2 separate regions of the Homo sapiens genome follow, and region 1 is linked to region 2. The links are contacts of gene promoters, found by promoter capture Hi-C in blood cells and fetal thymus (Javierre and others, 2016). All regions are on one chromosome and are shown on one strand. Each heading gives the region's core, a stretch centred on a gene start or on the middle of the fragment in contact. The rest is flanking DNA. Distances are from core to core; before and after follow the strand shown.

Region 1 (2,700 bases), core at 118-2,617, 670 kb after region 2:
GGTGCAGATTAGAGATCTAAAGTTAAGGGAGGGGGAAAATCCAGGAAGAAGGAAGAAGAAAAATAAAACCTCAGATATGTAAAGCTTGAAAGAAAGGGACACACATGGACAATCAAGAAACTTTATAAACGTTAGCAGGGGAAATGGGCCCCTTCCTTCAGGCTGCAGACTCCATTTGCAGTACGGATGAGAGGAGACTTTGGAGTGAGAGACTGTCTGGCTGCTGACTTTTTACTAAACCTACCACCACCAATCACACTCCGTGGAGATCTCTCAGATACTGAGGATTTGAATTCTGACATTCGTGGTGATGAAGAGTCAGTGGATAGCAGACTTTCACTTACTGAGGCAAGAAAAAAATTAAAATTCCCAATATTCTCACTATCCACTACAGCATCTAGAAGTTTACATGACACACAGTAAATGCTCAGTAAATATCTGAGAAATAAACTGGGGAGAGGTCTGGTTTTAACAATCTGCTCTATCTGAATAGGCTGCATAGAGGTATCTGTCTTTAGCAGAATGAAAGCCAAAGAATCAATGAGAAAATTCTCTTATGTCTCTAAATTTCTTACAAGGGGACTATTCTATGAAATAAAGTAATTCTAGAAAGACCAAAAACTTAATAAGATAGAGGTAGAAGTAGGGACTATGAGTCAGAGTTTATTAGCTCGATTTAATAATGTCCACTTTTATAGAAGAACAAAGTAAGGAAACAGCTTTATGCCACAACTTACCTAGAAACATCAGCCATATTTTAAACAATACTTTATAGCTTCTAAAAATAGCTCAGATAGAGGGGTTTGGGTGGATAAAAATAACAACTATCATATATTGGATTGTCCTTATGTACTAGCACTATGATTTACATGGAAGGCCCATTTCACATTCCCATTTGGCTCAGTAGGTTGGTTTAGTAGAGTCGTAATTTTATAGGTAAGAATGATTAAAATTCAATAAGTTAAATTTACTTGCCTAAGGTCACAAGACTAGTGAAAGATAATTGATAATTCTAACTCAGGCCAGTTGACTCTAGAACCCATATAATTAACCACTACTCTGACTTTTCTTAACCTCAACAGTATCAGGTGCCAAACATACTTACAATCACTGAGGTTCTGACTGACAAAAAATTACCAAATGTGGTGGAGAAACTTGAATGGAGACTACTTAACATGCGTATGATCCAACTTCCTTAAACAACACACACTAAGATACTTAAGTACAGTGCAAGATATATACTGTCTCTGTACAGATCTTTGGGAATACCTTATAGGAAAGATATGAAATTACTTTGCTTGGCAAGTTTTAAGATAGGAAATAATGTCTGTCCCACAGAATTTTATAGCTGCCCTTGGGACTATTAGGTTCTATTTCTGTCATTTTTTAATTGAGTAACCTATAGTCCTGAATAAATTTGTCCAGTAACAAAACTAGTCAATAATAAGATTAGGATGAGAATTGAGTTCTGCAAACTCCTTATCTACACATCTTTTGATGATATCAGCTGTTTAATCTTCCTGAGAACTCTTTAGAAGCAGGAAGACAGATTTGTTGACCTCACTGACCTTGACTGGACTAAAACATCCCTTGGATATTTCTGTCCATTGATCCACAATAAATTCTTAATAGGAAGACAATGTCTTCTTGAAATGGGAATTAATAGGTTCCTTTTCTCTGTACCTTGGCATTGTTAACATGGAAAACAGGGGTACAAGCATTATTCAGTTTTATTACTTAGAATAAATCCTTTGGGATAGTTTTTGTTATTTTGACCTCTGACTTAGACTGATAAACTTCTGAGGCATTGGGAGGGATGCTTATACTCTAATAAAATCAAATCTCTATATCATAATCTGCAAGAAAAAATTCAAAATATAAAATTTTTTCTAATTTTGTTTTCCCCAAAATATCCCTGAAAAAATCAAGATTTTAGAGTTTTATGTAGTATTATGGAGTCTATTAATCAATCATTAGAAATTAGCAAAAAAAATTGCTAAATTGATTCTACTTTCAATTAGATCCAGCTTTCATCTCACCACCCCCTTGTTTAATACCACTGTGGCTACTTAGCTTTAAAATGGAACTTCAACCTATTGGTGTAAAATTTCCCTTGGAAAGAGGAAAATAGAATCTTAAGACAATGAGGATGAGAAACAGCAATTTCTAGGTTAAAACTTGGCAGGTTGTAGAAGATACTAATCTGAAAGTGACCATTTGATTAAAAAAATCAAGAACTTGTTCCTGAGGCTGGGGGCACAGAGAATGAAGAAAGAGTTCTTTAAATGTGATGAAGTTTCTTCTTCATAAATAAAAATGTAAGTGGAAGTCTCAACTATTTAAACAAACATTTTTACTACTAATCAGATATGTGCAAATTAATTAACAGCAAGATATAATTTTACAAGAGGCAAATTAGCAAACTATATTTCTCAGTGATGATACCCCATGCAAATTCACAACTTTTCTTGATCCTATCAGGAAGATGGAATTGCAAGGCAATAAGCTAGAAAAAATGTCTAAGGAGGGGAAAAAAAACTGCAAGGAAAGACAAGATGCAAACACTGGCTTAAGTAAGATAGACACAAGTGGACACTGGTAATAAGAGTTTGGTTGAAAATTTGGTAGAAGACAGGTATGTACTGGTGATAAAGCTTAATGTCCCTGAGGATGACAGAAATTCCAGATGTCAATACCCTC
Region 2 (2,700 bases), core at 82-2,581:
CTGGAGAGTTCCTGCCCTGAAACTTGCATCCACTTGGTCCCTAAAGCAGAGGATACACTAAAGAACACCTTATATACTCTCCACTGCAGTTCTCCCTTGTGGAGAAGAAGGGGTTAGGAGCTCCGCATGAAATTAAAATAAAATAAAATAAAACGCCTACATATATGGGTCTTCTTAATCTTCTTTGAGCCAGTACATAGGTCTGGCAAGTAAAGGGAAAGTCACTTGAGGGGATGTCAGCTTGCCTGGAAATTTAACCCTTTCATCTCTGTATTAGGAGAACTTTAACCCCTCTGTTTACCTGGTCTTCAGTTCCACACACCAATGCGACCAAGGCAACAGGAAATAGGGATTTGACTCCTCAGTTTGAAGCTGTGGCATTTGGAGAGGACTCTGATGGTGTTGGTGGGAGAGATGGGGAGGTTGGTCTCCTAGTAGGTGATGTTAACTCTTGGGGGAAGTGGGCAGAGACCAGTTTGCAGCATCTCCCATGTCCAGAAACCCTATTTCCCCCCAATTCTCCATCAGATCACACAGCCGACTTTAACCCTTTCCATCTTTCCACCCCTTTACCCTCAGTCCCATTCTACTCACGCTGCTGTTGTGGCCAGACCAGTGGACCATGGCTTGGTTGTGTGCTGAGTCTCCCGTCAGCGCAAACGTGGTGCTGGTCAGTCTCAGCTCCTCCATCCGGAAGCGGGTGGCTTTGTCCGGGTCCCGCTCCCGAGTCCCAGGCTCCTGCTGCCCTCCATCTCTTAGCACTCCCCGGGGGCTCCGACTCGCGCCCTCTCCCCGTTCTGCCTTCTCCTGATCCGCTCCGCTCCGTCTCCTCCGGCCGGAGCGTGCAGCAACCGCCATGGATGCCCCAGTGCCCCGAGCCCGCTCCAGGGATAGCGCTCGGTCCCCGGGGGCCACTGAGAACAGGGGACGCACTACGAGGGGCAGGGGCGTGGCAGGAGCCCTGCCTGGCCGCCCCTGGTGGGAAAAGCCCCTAGGGGTCGAGGCCGAGCGTGGAGCGGAGCTGGGGTGCGGCGAGGGGCAGCAGGAGCCGCCGCCGCAGACGCCCGGGGCGCAGAGGATCAAGAGCCCCGCGCCGGCGAGGAGCGCGCTCAGCCGGGCTTGGGAGCCGCCGCCGGCGCCAACTTTTCCCATCGCGGGAGCGAAGAGCAGCGGAGAGAGGGGTCCCAGAACGAAGGTGGCGGCACGAGCTCTGCGCTGGCGGCTGTGGGGGGCCGGCGCTCAGGACCCCAACTCCATCCAAGTTGCGCCGCGGTGGGGGCGGGCGGAGGCGGCGCCGGGCAGGTGGCGGCCGCTTGCCCGGGCTGGGCTTGTGCCGAGCGCGGGTCCGGACGGAGCGAGCCGCCGCCGCGCGGGGGTGGAGCTGAGCTGAAGTCACTGGCGGAGCGGGCGCGGGCGCTGGCGGGCGACGCGGGAGGGAGGGCAGGCGCTGCCGGGACTCCGGGCGCCGCGTCCCGCGGCCGAGCTGCGCTGCGCACCGGGTCTCCGGGCGCTGGAGGCGCCGCCGGCGACCTCCCCTCGGCCTCGCAGGCGCTGCCGCCGCCTCTCCCCGCCGCCCACTCTGCGCCCCCGCGGCCGCGGGTCCCGGCGCTGAGTCCGCGCACCCTGCCCGCGGGGGCGGTCGACCCCGGGCTCCCGGAGCAGTCGATGTGTCGGGAGCTTCCTATTCCTGCTTTATTGTTTCTATGAGTCTATGTTGCTGTTTCCTTTTTTCTCCGTCTTTCTGGTCTTTTCTAGTTGAGGAGATAGGGATGGGTGGGCTTCTGCTCCTTCCCTCTCTTATGCTTCCTGAGTTGGCATCTTGACCTTACCCGCAGCAGAGCCTGTGTGTCCCAGCCTGGGGGGAGATCCCGGAAAGGCAGCAGCAGAGAGTGATGTAATTAAATGATCTCGTGTGTGAGTGTGTGTGTGTGTGTGTGTGTGTGTGTGTTAGTTTGGGGGATTTTTTTTCCCATCAATTTTAACGCTTAGATTTCTCTCCTAACCTCCTAAAGCATTCACTGAATTTGAACCCAATCTTCCTGCATGCAATCATATTTAAGAAAACGCTTTCCACTACGCGTTTTTTAAGCGTATATATCTTGGTTTCCCTAAGAGACTGCAAACTCATTGAGGACAGGAAGATCAAATTTCGAGCAACTTGGAGGAAGTGACCTGTTTTTTGTTTACCATTTTCCTCAGTACGTGGCACAGTACCCTACATGGGAGGAAATCTGCCAGTCATTAGTTCAATAAATATTTATTGTGAGTCTAATGCATATCTGCATAACAAATAAATACAGGAAAGGAGGCACAGTACTTATAGTTATTCTGTGTCACTTGGTGCCTGGCCCAGTGCTACTGCCACATGCTTTGAGATCCCTAATAGCAAGTCTGTGATGGTGCTCTGCCACTGGTTTGCTTTGGGACCTCAGACAAATCACAATCTGTCAGCTTCCTAAGCTTTAAAATTAAATGGTCACATTAGATGACCTTTAAAATCCCTTCCGCTCCTAAAATTCTATAATTGTATGATTATAGTATCTGCCCAGCCTAGCACCCTGCTACTATTCGTAAGTTCAGATGAAGATTTATAGCAGGTGAATGGGCTTTGAAAACGGCAAAGGATTTCTCAAAATCCAATCCTTTTTAAAGTAGACAGTTTGCTTCTAAGGGTTGAAATGGTTTCAGATTTCTTTGCAG

What was found. The method cuts DNA at HindIII sites, captures the fragments that hold promoters and counts their contacts. A CHiCAGO score of 5 or more calls a contact.
Region 1: a fragment that was not itself captured here is called in contact with the fragment with the promoter of SORCS1 in region 2 in 1 of 17 cell types (M1 macrophages); the score reaches 5.1 in M1 macrophages.

What each region holds. Positions count from the first base shown.
Region 1 is chr10:107,830,886-107,833,585 of GRCh38, forward strand. No RefSeq gene overlaps it. Among named protein-coding and RNA genes, the nearest start is that of LINC01435, 240 kb to the right of the region's middle. The HindIII fragment of the contact is 2,570 bases long and covers 83-2,652 here.
Region 2 is chr10:107,163,375-107,166,074 of GRCh38, forward strand. SORCS1 (sortilin related VPS10 domain containing receptor 1) reads right to left here and starts at 1,332. Exons shown (of 26, transcript NM_052918.5): 1 at 595-1,332. The coding sequence starts at 1,152. RefSeq lists a silencer at 1,048-1,241. The HindIII fragment of the contact is 2,762 bases long and covers 1-2,458 here.